3 separate regions of the Homo sapiens genome follow, and all the other regions are linked to region 1. The links are contacts of gene promoters, found by promoter capture Hi-C in blood cells and fetal thymus (Javierre and others, 2016). All regions are on one chromosome and are shown on one strand. Each heading gives the region's core, a stretch centred on a gene start or on the middle of the fragment in contact. The rest is flanking DNA. Distances are from core to core; before and after follow the strand shown.

Region 1 (3,934 bases), core at 883-3,382:
ACTTTCTTGAGTGTGTGACACTCACAGAGGATGCAAATTCCCAACACCCTCCACCCAGCCCCAGCGTCTACTTCTGTGGGTCTAATGGGGACCCAGGAATGGCTCTTTTAACGGCCCCCTCATGAGATTGATGTGGGTAGTTCCCAAATCCTGTGAGGTGGGCTGTCAGTGCAATAGAGCCTGGGGTATGCCCATTTGTGCTTAGGCCACTGAGAAATTTACAGGCTCGATAGGCCTTTGGTATGTTCAAAGGTGAGTGAAGGATAACAAGGTGAAGAGATGCCTGTGAATCTGATTTTTTGGATGGCTGCAACTAAGAGTCAATGGGCATGAAAAACAATCCAAGAGCTCACATTTATATGAGGCCCTTATCAGTACTGAGAGAGACATTCTCACTTCACAAGCTTGGATGTGCAAAAAGAAAAAAATCACTTATTTCTTTAAATCAGTTATTGATTTCAAACCCCCCATCCTACTGTCTGGCTGGAAATTCAATATCAACCATGCTTGGGTCTGGCTCCTAGAGCCATCTGAAGGTCCTTGGATGCCTACGCATTCAAGGGTGCCATTGTGGGTCTTTGGTCCCTTTCCCATTTGAGGCTGTTTAATGGCCCTGCTTCTCACCTGAGCCTGGAAACCCTACAAAGCCGAGACCCCAGGGTTAGGCCCACCTCCCTGTGCACACTCGCGGCTATGCCCTCTCCCGGCCCCAGTCCTAGGAAGCCCACTCCTCTGCACCACTCCCTCTCCCTACAGAATCCCGCTCCTCAAGGGCTGAACAAAAAAGCCGGAAAAGGAAGAGTGTGCAGGAACCTTTTTTATTCAATCCTTCTTTTACCCTTCTTGGAAAAAGCGCAAATACAGTGATAACTAAATACCGTATCTCTATCAATTATCCTTTGGCCCAAAGCCCTTTGGGGTGATCCTCCATGATGGATGCCCCATGTAAAGGTGAGGAATCTGATCCCGAGGAAGCAACCATTGTGGCCAATTTCACATAGATAATAGCTGGCCAGGTCTAGACTCAAACCAGGCTGTCCACTTCTCTCTGGTCCAGCCCAATTGCCCCAGCTGAGTCATTCTGAAGAGTCAGCATGGACTAAAATGGTGGGGAGGCCCCTCTTTTCCCACTGATGTTCACTGGCCCATGGGAGGGAAGTGGGGGAATCTCTTGAGGGCCATTAAGGTGGGTAACAAAGGCAAAAGAACCAGGTAACAGTTCATTTACTTACCTTCTATTCAACTAGCAACAACATCACAACTATTCATTAAACAGGGCCAATTTATCCCTATAGCACCATGAGTTAAAGAGAGTTGTGGAGAAAAGAGACAAAGAGGGAAGGGTTTTGAGAAGAAAAGGCCCTGAGAATCCTGCACACAGACCTTCAAGGGAACAGCTCCATCTGGTGACTGCTTAGCAGATTCTTGCTCAAGAAACAAAGCCATATTGTGATTTTATTCAACCACTCTCAAAGATGGAGAGATACAGTTAAGCTGGAGGCTGAAGCCAGTCAGTATCAAATTGATACTAAAATATTATATTGCAGCAAATCCAGAAGAAATACATCCTATCTTTCGCAACCACAGGAAGTAAATACCTGGAAGAAAGGTCCATCTCCTGCCAGTAGCACCAGACACCAGATTCATTATAACCTTTCATCAGAGATTAAATATGGAAACAGATCCTGGAAAAGCCCTTGGCAAATCATAAATGAGAGGAAGTTTTTCTCCATGGCATACCCTGGCCATTCCTCCACTCTCCAGCCACATCATGTCTCCAGCCCTGCTACAACTTGACAGCAATAATAATAACTAAAATGTGCACAGATCTTTACAGTTTACCAAGCCATTAACCCATTTAAAACACTTCTTTAATCAGTAAATCAGTGGGGAAAGGCTTGGCTATGCTGTGGTAACAAACCTCTCGAATCTTAGTCACTTGACACAACAAAAGATGGTATCTCGCTCACAGAACCTGTGGTGATCTGGGTGACTCTCAGGTCAGTGGCTCAGTAGTGCCCCTCTGCCTGCTCAGGGCCTGGAGGATTGGCCTGAGAGCCCCCCCAACCAGTGTCTCAGTAACTCAGACTGTTTGGAACCTGAGGTACCTCCATTTCATTATAAGCTGCCATGATGGATGGGGCAGGGGAAGAAAGTCCTGGAAGATCCCGCACTGCTAAGCAATGCTTTGTCCCAAAGTAACGCTCTTCACTCTGCTCCCAGCCTAGCTGCCGCAAGAGCGGAACAGAATATTCTGTGTGCTCAGGAGAAGAAAAGAGCAGATATGGTTGAGCACTAAAACCCTCTACTGTGGGTAGTGAACCTAGGTGGACACAGTTGCTCACCGGGACACTTAAACCAGCTTTGCGGGGCTGTCGGGGTTGGGAAGCACAGTCTGGAAAGATTTCCCAATGGAGGAAGCACCAATTGTGGGTCCCTGAAGCTGAGGGGATGATGCCCAGGCAAGGCCGAGGCAGTCTGCAGAGGGCTGGGGAGGTGGGAAAGACGATTTTGCTCAGAGGAGGCAGAGATGGGGTGGTGGCTGAGAGAGATGCAGGGTCAAGGAAAGGATGGCTTCAGAGAGGAGAGATTTGCTGGGGCAAAAGGCCACAGGATGGGGAGGCTGCGGGGTCCAAGAGGACAGCTGATGGAGCGAGACCCTGCAGGCAAGGAGGAGATGGGGTGACTCATGGCAGAATCGCACCAGAGTTCCCACAGCCCTGTGCGGCCACTATGACTAGTCCCATCCTGTACATGGAGAAAACGAGGCTCCTTCCAGTTGTCCCTCACGCCTCCCTTGATTTATGTACTACCTGATGTGTATAAGGACAGGTGGTGACAAACACATGGTCCCTACCCTTCAAGGACATATAATCCAGAGCTAAGACAAGACCTTAACACAGGGCAAAGTACTATGCTCTGAGTTCATTTGATGAGCGATGGGAGAACGGGCTTGATCCTAGCCATGCGGGAGAGACTGGAATTCAAGAGAGTCAAATGTGCTGGGAAAGACTTTCTGGGCAAAAGGAATAAGCAAAGGTGTGCAAAGGTAAGGAAGCAGGAAACCTTTGCACATCTTGAGAACTCGCCGGCCAGAGGCCTGTGAAGGAGCGCAGTGGTCAGGCAGGAGAGGCAGTCGGATGCAGGCTGAGACCATCCTGGAGGGTCTTGAGGCTGGCTTACCCCAGGCTGTGAGTAGTGGGCTCAGCCTAGTCCCGGCTCCTGGGTTAGTGCTCACGTGTCTCTCTGCCCCCTCAGGGCCTGGAGGAATGGCCTTAGAGCCCCCACCAACCACGCTCAGGAAGGCATTCCTAGCTCAGAGTACCCTCCTGGAGTCTACACTGGAAGGGGCTCCTGAGTGGGCCGCGCCACACCCCGAGGAGCAGAGGCGCAGTCCTCCCGCGTGCTCCCAGCACACTCCACCCCTACCCAGCACACCCACGGGGCCCCCACCTTGCTCACCTGGGGGGAACCACCCACTCTGCGCCCTCTCAGGGAGAGGTGGTGGCCGCTGCTCTATCCCCTCCCTCTCTTCCTCTTCCACCTTCTCTCTCTTCTCATCTGGGTGCTGGAACCCAAGGGTGAAACTGAGAGTCAGAAAGTCTCAGTCTCAAGGCAGAGCGGGGCAACTAATTTAAAACGGCTTCTACTCCGGCCCCCAGTGTGACTAATCTCCTTCTCTTCGCTCCACAGGTCTATAAATGGGCCACAGTAGGCACCCCTTTTTAAATCTGTAAAATCCCCAAATCCATTAAAAGTGACTTCAGAGGTCCCAGATAGGGACCAACATTTGTTTAAACCTTTTCCTCATTACATCTCATGACCGCCAGCTTACAAAAGAGAGACTGGGGGTTCTGGATGAGACGTATGCAATCCCTGAGTCCACCTTGGAAAGGACAGAGGCAGGTGTCACACCGTTCCTCTTTGACCCGAA
Region 2 (3,934 bases), core at 391-2,890, 1.2 Mb after region 1:
TTCTTTAAAATGTGATTATTTTTAAAATTTTATATGAAAAGATATCCAGTATAACCTGTTTTAAAGCGTGCTTTTTATTTTAAGTAGTATGAATCTCACTTGATCTTTAGTTAAATACATTAAACTTTTGTATGTTTTCATTTGTTTTTAGGACTATTCACCTAAACTTAAGAGAATGTGCGAGACAATGGGATATTTTTTCCATGCTGTTTATTTTCCAATAGATGTTGAAAATCAATACCTCACTGTAAGAAAATGGGAAATTGAGAAAAGTTCTTTAGTTATTTTATTTATTCACTTAACATTACCAAGGTAAGCTGAAAAAAAATGTAATTTATTATAAGCAGTAAACTGTAAATAGAATTGAGTTTGCCAAATAAGCTTCAAAGATAAATTTTATTGCATCCTTATAATAAAAAAATCCATGAAATTCAATAAATTCTACAACTGTTTCACACTTAAATAAAATAATTAAAAGTTTTAAGCTGTTAGACTTGTTTCATAGGTCATATGATCAACACCTTAATTTTTAGCTTATTTTAATCAGAGTTTGGCAAATATAGCCCAAGGGCCAAATCTAGCCAGGAGTTTGCTTTTGTAAATAAAGTTTTATTGGAACACAGCCACATTCATTCATTCATATATATATAAATTTTTTTTTCTTTTTTTTTTGAGACAGAGTCTTGCTCTGTCGTCCAGGCTGGAGTGCAGTGGCGCAATCTCGGCTCACTGCAAGCTCCACCTCCCAGGTTCACACCATTCTCCTGCCTCAGCCTCCTGAGTAGCTGGGACTATAGGCGCCCACCACCACGCCTGGCTAATTTTTTGTATTTTTGGTAGAGATGGGGTTTCACTGTGCTAGCCAGGATGGTCTCAATCTCCTAACCTTGTGATCCCCCTGCCTTGGCCTCCCAAAGTGCTGGGATTACAGGCGTAGGCCAACACACCTGGCCCATTCGTGTATTTTCTACAGCTGCCTTCATACTATAATAGCAAAGTTGAATCTTTACAACAGAAACCATGTGTCCTACAAAACCTGAGTTGTTTACTATCTGGCCTTTTACAGAAAAAGTTGATAACCCCTAATTTCAATAATCAACATTAACCTTCATTCTTTTCTTTCTTTGGATACAAACTGAGAGGTATTTGAACTATGTATTTTACATATAAAGTTCATGTACTTGATCACTTGTGTAGGTGTTGAATCATAATTTACATTTTTTGAGGAGCTTACTATTTAAATAGACCCAGTAAAGTGAACAATGTTCTTATAATGTGAATATAATCATGCTAATGAATCTTGTCTGCAAGTAAAGATTTTTTTTCACCAGTTAGATATAGAGATAAAGGACAAAATAAGTTTAATAAGAGGCTAATTTTTCTTTCTAGATTTACTGTCTAAATTTAACCTTTCCAAAGCATTTTGCTTTTTTAATTGTGGACCAACTCTGACTTTAACTGTGTATAGATATATGTAAGGCCTTAAGTTTCACCAGTTTCCCTGTAGCATAACCCATTGTAGACCCTTAAGACTTTGCCTAGTGGCCGGGTGAACAGGGAACTACCTGGTCAATGAGCCTTCATCCAGAATATGTTTAAGGAGTTCTTCAACTTGATTGCCTTCAGTAGGGTTTCATTGCTATCCACCCCTTCCCTTTTCTTTCCCTGTTTTTATATTTATTAAGGATATATCTTATCTTATTACTTAATGATTGAGTAGTTTTTTTATCTTACTTGGTAATATGTTATTTGTTGTTACATTATTTTTTCTAATTCTTATCTTTGATCCATAAAACCATTTTGTTTTTTCTTTACATTAAAGAAACTTTCTGGGTGACAGAGTATGACCCTGTCTCAAAAACAAACAAACAAAAACCTTACTTTTTAATAAAACATTGTATACATTATTCTTACACTTTAACATTTATTTTTCTTTTCCAATTTTAAACTCTTCTTAATGTTTTCCTCCCCATTTATTTCATATTTTATTACTTTTGCTTAGATTTCAGTTTATCCCCTTTTAGTAAAATTTTATATTGTACATTTTTAAAAATTTTATTCTTATTAAAGAAATGAGGATTTTAATTTCTTAAATTTAATAATTTTAGTCTCTACTTTGGCTTTATTTTACTTAAACTTTTCTTATTCCAGTTGCTTATTATTTTATTATTTGTTTCTTTCATGCCTGTCAAGAGGTATGGCAGTGGGGATGGGCTCCACACCACAAACAAGGGCTGTTGGAGCCTTTGTTTCAGATTTTTCCTTCGCCTACCCTGATGACTACCCCATCCTTCCCAAAAGATGAATCTAGAAAAGCCTCTCCTGAGCAGCTTGGAAGCTCCATGGGGAAACACTTTCCTGTCAATAATTATTCCCTGTGTGCAGATGGTATCCACAGAGTTATTTGAAGATAGTGTTCACTGGCTTCTCACACTATTCAGGCCTCTTATAAGAAATTATGAAGCTCAAAATGTATGGTTTTGATGTATGAAATGATTGGATTTGGAGCAAGCTATGCTAACAACATACTTAGTTGTAGGCTGGGAAGGTAGGCAGGAAGTCATGCTTAGTGAGGTGCACAGGCACTGTGCCTCTCGGTGTTACTGACTGGAGAAGGTGCATTAGAGGGAAACGGCCAGGCTCCTGCACTGCTTTTCCAGGGGTTCTTCTTTAATGCCTTTAATTTGACCAGCCTCACTTCATGGAAGGAGAAAAATCCCGGGAGAAATCTCCTACAACGAAGAATGGGAACTGAAATAGGGTGAGTCCGGGAGAGGCTGGCTGAGTAGGAATATTCCAGATAAAGGTTTAAAAATGAGGAATTCTTTGCTCATGATTGGCCCTCTTTCATTACATCAGCACCCTTGTTGGGCAGACCAGACTCACTAAGAAAGCTTGAACCTACGTAGAAGGAGAGGTGCCTCTCCCTTTGCACAGCAGCACAGAGGGGCGACTGTGACTGGTTTTCCTCAGGGCATCATCAGTCTTTCTCAAGGGATGGGGAGGCTTCCGTGCCTAAATAGTAATTCAGTCACCTTTCAGGACTTCTTAGGCCCTATTATTGGTTTCATTCAGCTTTTTTTTTTTTTTTACCAGATCACCTATAGAGTTTCGTTATAGAATTTAGGCAAGTGGAAGCCCTTGTTTGTTCTATACTTGAACTTTCTTCATTATGCCTCAGCTTTACTGTTTTAACTCCTCCAGCCCCACAAAGCTACATCTTCTCTTGCAGCTCCTCCCCTACATTTTTGTCTGCTCAGGCTACTTTCTGAAGGGATCCTAAAGTGCAACTTATCAACATATTAGCTGGCCTGTTATACTATCTAACTTCAGCAATTATCACCTCATGACTCGTTGTTTCATCTGTAGCATCTGCTTCCGTTCCACCAGATTATTTGAATAAAATACCAGAGATCATACCATTTTATCTGAGCCCCATGGGTCAGTTTTGTAGGGAATGCCTTGAAATATGGACGTGTGCCTGAACAGCAAGCCCATTGTTTGGTCTTCTAATGGGCCACAGACTTTTCCCACAAAGCACTGACAGATGAATCATTGAAATTCCAAAATTCGATAGAACATGGCCAGAGTGATTTTAATATAGAAAACTTCTGTGGTTTGGGTAGAATGGATTGGCGCAGAAATATACAACAGAATGTTTCTTAATTTTTAATATTTTGGGCTAGTAGTCTAATTTGCAGATTCTGAATCATACAATATCGCCCTTCTACACATACACACACACACACCCCCCACAAAAACATTTGTTTCCCTAGACAACTTTCATTTAATGCTTTCTAGAAAGGGGAATTGGTCGCAGTGTCCTTTGTTGTGTAGAAAACCCCAGTAGATGTGGGCTGCACTCAGTGGCTCATGCCTATAATCCCAGCACTTTGGGAGGCCAAGGTGAGAGGATCACTTGAGCCCAGGAATT
Region 3 (3,934 bases), core at 709-3,208, 1.2 Mb after region 1:
ATTTAATATATAATTTTCAAATAATCTACAATAAATATTTATAATATACATCCATACTACTTCAGTTCTAAAGGCAATGTTTGCTTATTTGTTTGTTATAATGAAATCTGTTCATTAGGTGTTTTTAGAAAACTTCAAAAGGTTTTGTTTCAAAGCACCTAAATTATTGAAAAATAAACAGACAAGCTTATATAGGCAAAACACATACACACACACATATGCACACACACTCATCCTCACAGCTTTAACATATTGTTAATAATACTAACAGAACTCTTTATTGAGGACTTAGTGCATGTCAACCACTGTGATGGACACTTGCTTCATGGATATTGTCTCCTACCACCCACTACTACTTTGTGAATCAGATTCTATTTCTGTTCCCATTTTATCATCCTTTTTATAATTCTGATAAAATATTAGGGCTTAAAAGGGTTAAAATTTTGTCCATTAACTATAATAACCTGGGTTCAATAAAACATTAGTCAATAAAACAAAGTGCTGGGATTACAGGCGTGAGCCACCGCGCCCGGCTGACTTGGTGGTCTTTGATTAATGTTCTGGGAATGGTTAGTGTTGGTTCCAATGGAATAGCCTTTCCTGGTTGCTGAATGTTTACAAGTGCAAATCTAAAGTTCAATCTGAATAGACATAATCCTCAGAACACTGGGTGATAGTTGCCACTCTAGGTGACCACTGTCATTCTGTTTGTGCTTCTATTTCCCATTAGAGTTGAGGTTAAATTCTTAAACAGTCTCATGTTAGGAAATGTTGTCTTCTCTAATTTAACAAAATGTTCCGTTTGGGGGCAGAATTTGCCAGGTAATTACCATAGAGTGGTCACCTTATTTTGATATTCGTCAGGAACTATCTTTATCCCTGCAGAGGGTATGTGTCCCCACTCCATGCTACTGCTCTGCACAGTGAAGACCCTTCATGCTGCTCTTGGTGCAGCCAACATCATTCTTTTCTGTAAGCATCATAAAACATAGGGCAAAAAAATAATTCTGTGGGATCAACTCACTGGACTGAGACACATGTCAAGTTAATGTCAAAGCTAGACTGGCAATGCACTAGGCTGTCATAATGTAGTCTGCATTTCTTTAATCATAAGTTAAGCAATCATTTTTCTGATTGCATAATTCTCTTTTGGGAGATATGATATGTACTTCAAAATCCCCTAGTGTTGTTAGAATGTTTTTCTCTTGACCTAGAAAGGGGAAACTATAAGAGGTTTCCTGCTGAATTAACTCCCAAAAAAGAACTGTTTGGTAAATTTAGTTATTTAACATATCTGTTCCTATTTCCATTAAGAAAAATGTGACAAAATGAAAACACCAAGTTTTACTTTTGCCCAGTGCTTCTATAGATGAAACTCATTCTTAACATTGGGTCATAGAGAGAACTCTGGACTTGGTGCCAGCAACTGAATTCTAGATATTGTGCCTTCTGCCATTTACCCTTTCAACCTGCTAAGGAACTTGAAGATACTCTCCCTCCACAGCTGAGCTTATTCACCTTCGAAATGGGCTTAGAGTGGAAAGCCTACACCAATTCATTTATGCCATCTATGCAAATATTCATTGGCCTAAGTTTTCAAAGAACAAACAATAAACACTTAATTTAAGAAAATGGAAAAGATGACTGCCAGTACTGATACTGTAGTTTACTCAATGATAATTTAATTAGAACACTTTAATATCCCATAAGAGTGTGTGACAAGAAAAAAAGAAAGAAAGAAAGAAAGAAAAACCAAGCAGCTTTGCTAAGCTGGGCTCACTGAGTTAAATACAGTTAAATATATTGACTGTTCCTCAACAATTCTGCACTCAATATCTTATTTCCTGATAAATTTTCAGAAAGATTCTCAAAAAGCTTTAGACTCTCTTATCTTCCAATAAGTCTATAGAGATACTTTTATGTGGATGAAACATGTTTTCAGGGGAAGTCACTAAATTAATAGCATTTAATTGAGTCCTTTTTTATTGATAGCTACTAAAACTATATGTTGTCCAAACAACAGTCCATCTAACAAGCTTTCCACACAGCCTACAGATAGTAGTTTATTTCACAAAGGTCAGTGGATCAGTTTCATTTGTCATGCTCTGCGGTAGTTAACAAGAGTGTTGATAGCATGTTTATCACTATATATGCTAGAACGTTGTGTTTTTCATTCATCATTTCAATTACTTACATAGTGTGGCATAACAAAGCACTGGCTTAAAATGCAGCAGTAAGTCTCCCTTCTGATTTAAAAGCTGTATGCATCTCTGACAGTTCTGAGCAATGCTTTATATGGCTTTGTTTACCTTGTTCTAAGATGAAATGACAATTCATTTTTCATAAATAATCTGAAGAGTCTTTGCAGCAGATATTTTTTCCTTTGAAGTAAATTTAAAAGAGGGCTTCAGATGTATACATATATTTTTTATTAAGTAGCAAATGGAAAATACCTCCAAAAGTTTTGCCCTGTGACATCTGGTAGAAAGTCTTGTAAAACAGAAGCCACTCTATAGGTAAATGACAAATATACTATCTAAAAGCCATAATTTATACCTCTTTTTGAACACACAATTTTCCACATGCTAGAGTTTGGATACTACTCTCCTATTACCTGTATATTGGAAACACAATCAAATCATTGTGTTAGAACAAGAAAGCATTAGGCTCTTGGATAATGGATCTTATGCTAAAAAGTACACATTTTGAAGTGTTCTGTTTTTCATTTTTGAGGTAGCTGTGCTTTGAATTTACTTACTAACTTCCTTTACTCAGTGTGGGAGCTATGGAAGAACTCCAGAGTAGAGAGCAAGAGATTTCAGGTTCTGGTCTGGGCCCTAGCATTCGTTTTTTGGAAATAACTAGTTAGTTAGTTAGTTTGGTTGATTGATTTTGAGACGGAGTCTCGCTCTGTCACCAGGCTGGAGTGAAGTGGCGTGATCTCAGCTCACTGCAACCTCCGCCTCCCAAGTTCAAGGGATTCTCCTCTCTCAGCCTCCGGAATAGCTGGGACTACAGGCACGCACCACCATATCCAGCTGATTTTTGTATTTTTAGTAGAGACGGGGTTTCACCATGTTGGCCAGGATGGTCTCAATCTCTTGACCTCGTGATCCACCCACCTCAGCCACCCAAAGTGCTGGGATTGCAGACATGAGCCACCGCGAGCTGTAAATAACTAGTTTTTGAGAAAATACTGAAATTTCTTGGGCCTCAGTTCTCAGAACTATAAAACTAGACAAGAAGGTCTTCAAATCTTCCAGGTCTATAAGGAATCTATGATTTCATAATCCAAAGAAAGCAACATGATATAAGTAAAACACTTTAAATTCATAAAGAACATTTGTGAATTCTGCTATTAACTAACAAGAGGGGTGAGGTTTCAGAAAGCATAGCTGTGTCTGATAAAGAAAGGGTATATTTAGAATGAATCCTTTTCATTAATTAAGGTGTCTTTCTTGTTTAATTTTCCCAGGGTATTACATTCAATACAATTACATCTGTTTTCAATAATAATATCTTTTCTTTTAGGGAATTGTGTTTTTAATATAATAAATTTAGTTTTACCATAAAAGTATAATAATGTATGCATTTTATTACATTTTTATCTCCTACAAATATATAAAAGGAAAGAAAATGGTTCTGTACTTTCCACATAACATGTATGCTAAAATAGCTTATAGGCATACTTTGCATTTAATTATACTGACATCATCTAGGAGTCTCATAAAATTTTAATATGTATCTGTATTTTATACATGGGGAAACAGGCAGAAGATAAACATGGGACCCGTTCTTGAACACAGTAATTGCTGAGCAGGCCAAAGATGAAAATTCTGACTCTACCATCCTGGTAAAAGGCATTATGCTTAGCTCACTATTGCTAGCTTTTCCTGTCTCTGAAATTTTCCTACTGATATATTTCCAAATGTCT

What was found. The method cuts DNA at HindIII sites, captures the fragments that hold promoters and counts their contacts. A CHiCAGO score of 5 or more calls a contact.
Region 2: a contact is called between a fragment that was not itself captured here and the fragment with the promoter of C3orf36 in region 1, in 2 of 17 cell types (total B cells and naive CD8 T cells). The highest score is 8.1, in total B cells.
Region 3: a contact is called between a fragment that was not itself captured here and the fragment with the promoter of C3orf36 in region 1, in 7 of 17 cell types (naive B cells, total B cells, non-activated CD4 T cells and 4 more). The highest score is 9.6, in naive B cells.

The regions. Positions count from the first base shown.
Region 1 is chr3:133,928,010-133,931,943 of GRCh38, reverse strand. C3orf36 (chromosome 3 putative open reading frame 36) reads left to right here and starts at 2,132. Exons shown (of 1, transcript NR_161373.1): 1 at 2,132-3,799. The HindIII fragment of the contact is 5,965 bases long and covers 407-3,934 here.
Region 2 is chr3:132,709,504-132,713,437 of GRCh38, reverse strand. It overlaps NPHP3 (nephrocystin 3), which reads left to right. Exons shown (of 27, transcript NM_153240.5): 6 at 152-312. NPHP3-ACAD11 (NPHP3-ACAD11 readthrough (NMD candidate)) reads left to right here. Exons shown (of 45, transcript NR_037804.1): 6 at 152-312. Among named protein-coding and RNA genes, the nearest start is that of NPHP3-AS1, 10 kb to the left of the region's middle. The HindIII fragment of the contact is 2,513 bases long and covers 384-2,896 here.
Region 3 is chr3:132,751,324-132,755,257 of GRCh38, reverse strand. The region is part of intron 3 of NPHP3-AS1 (NPHP3 antisense RNA 1); the gene reads right to left. Among named protein-coding and RNA genes, the nearest start is that of NPHP3-ACAD11, 31 kb to the right of the region's middle. The HindIII fragment of the contact is 161 bases long and covers 1,878-2,038 here.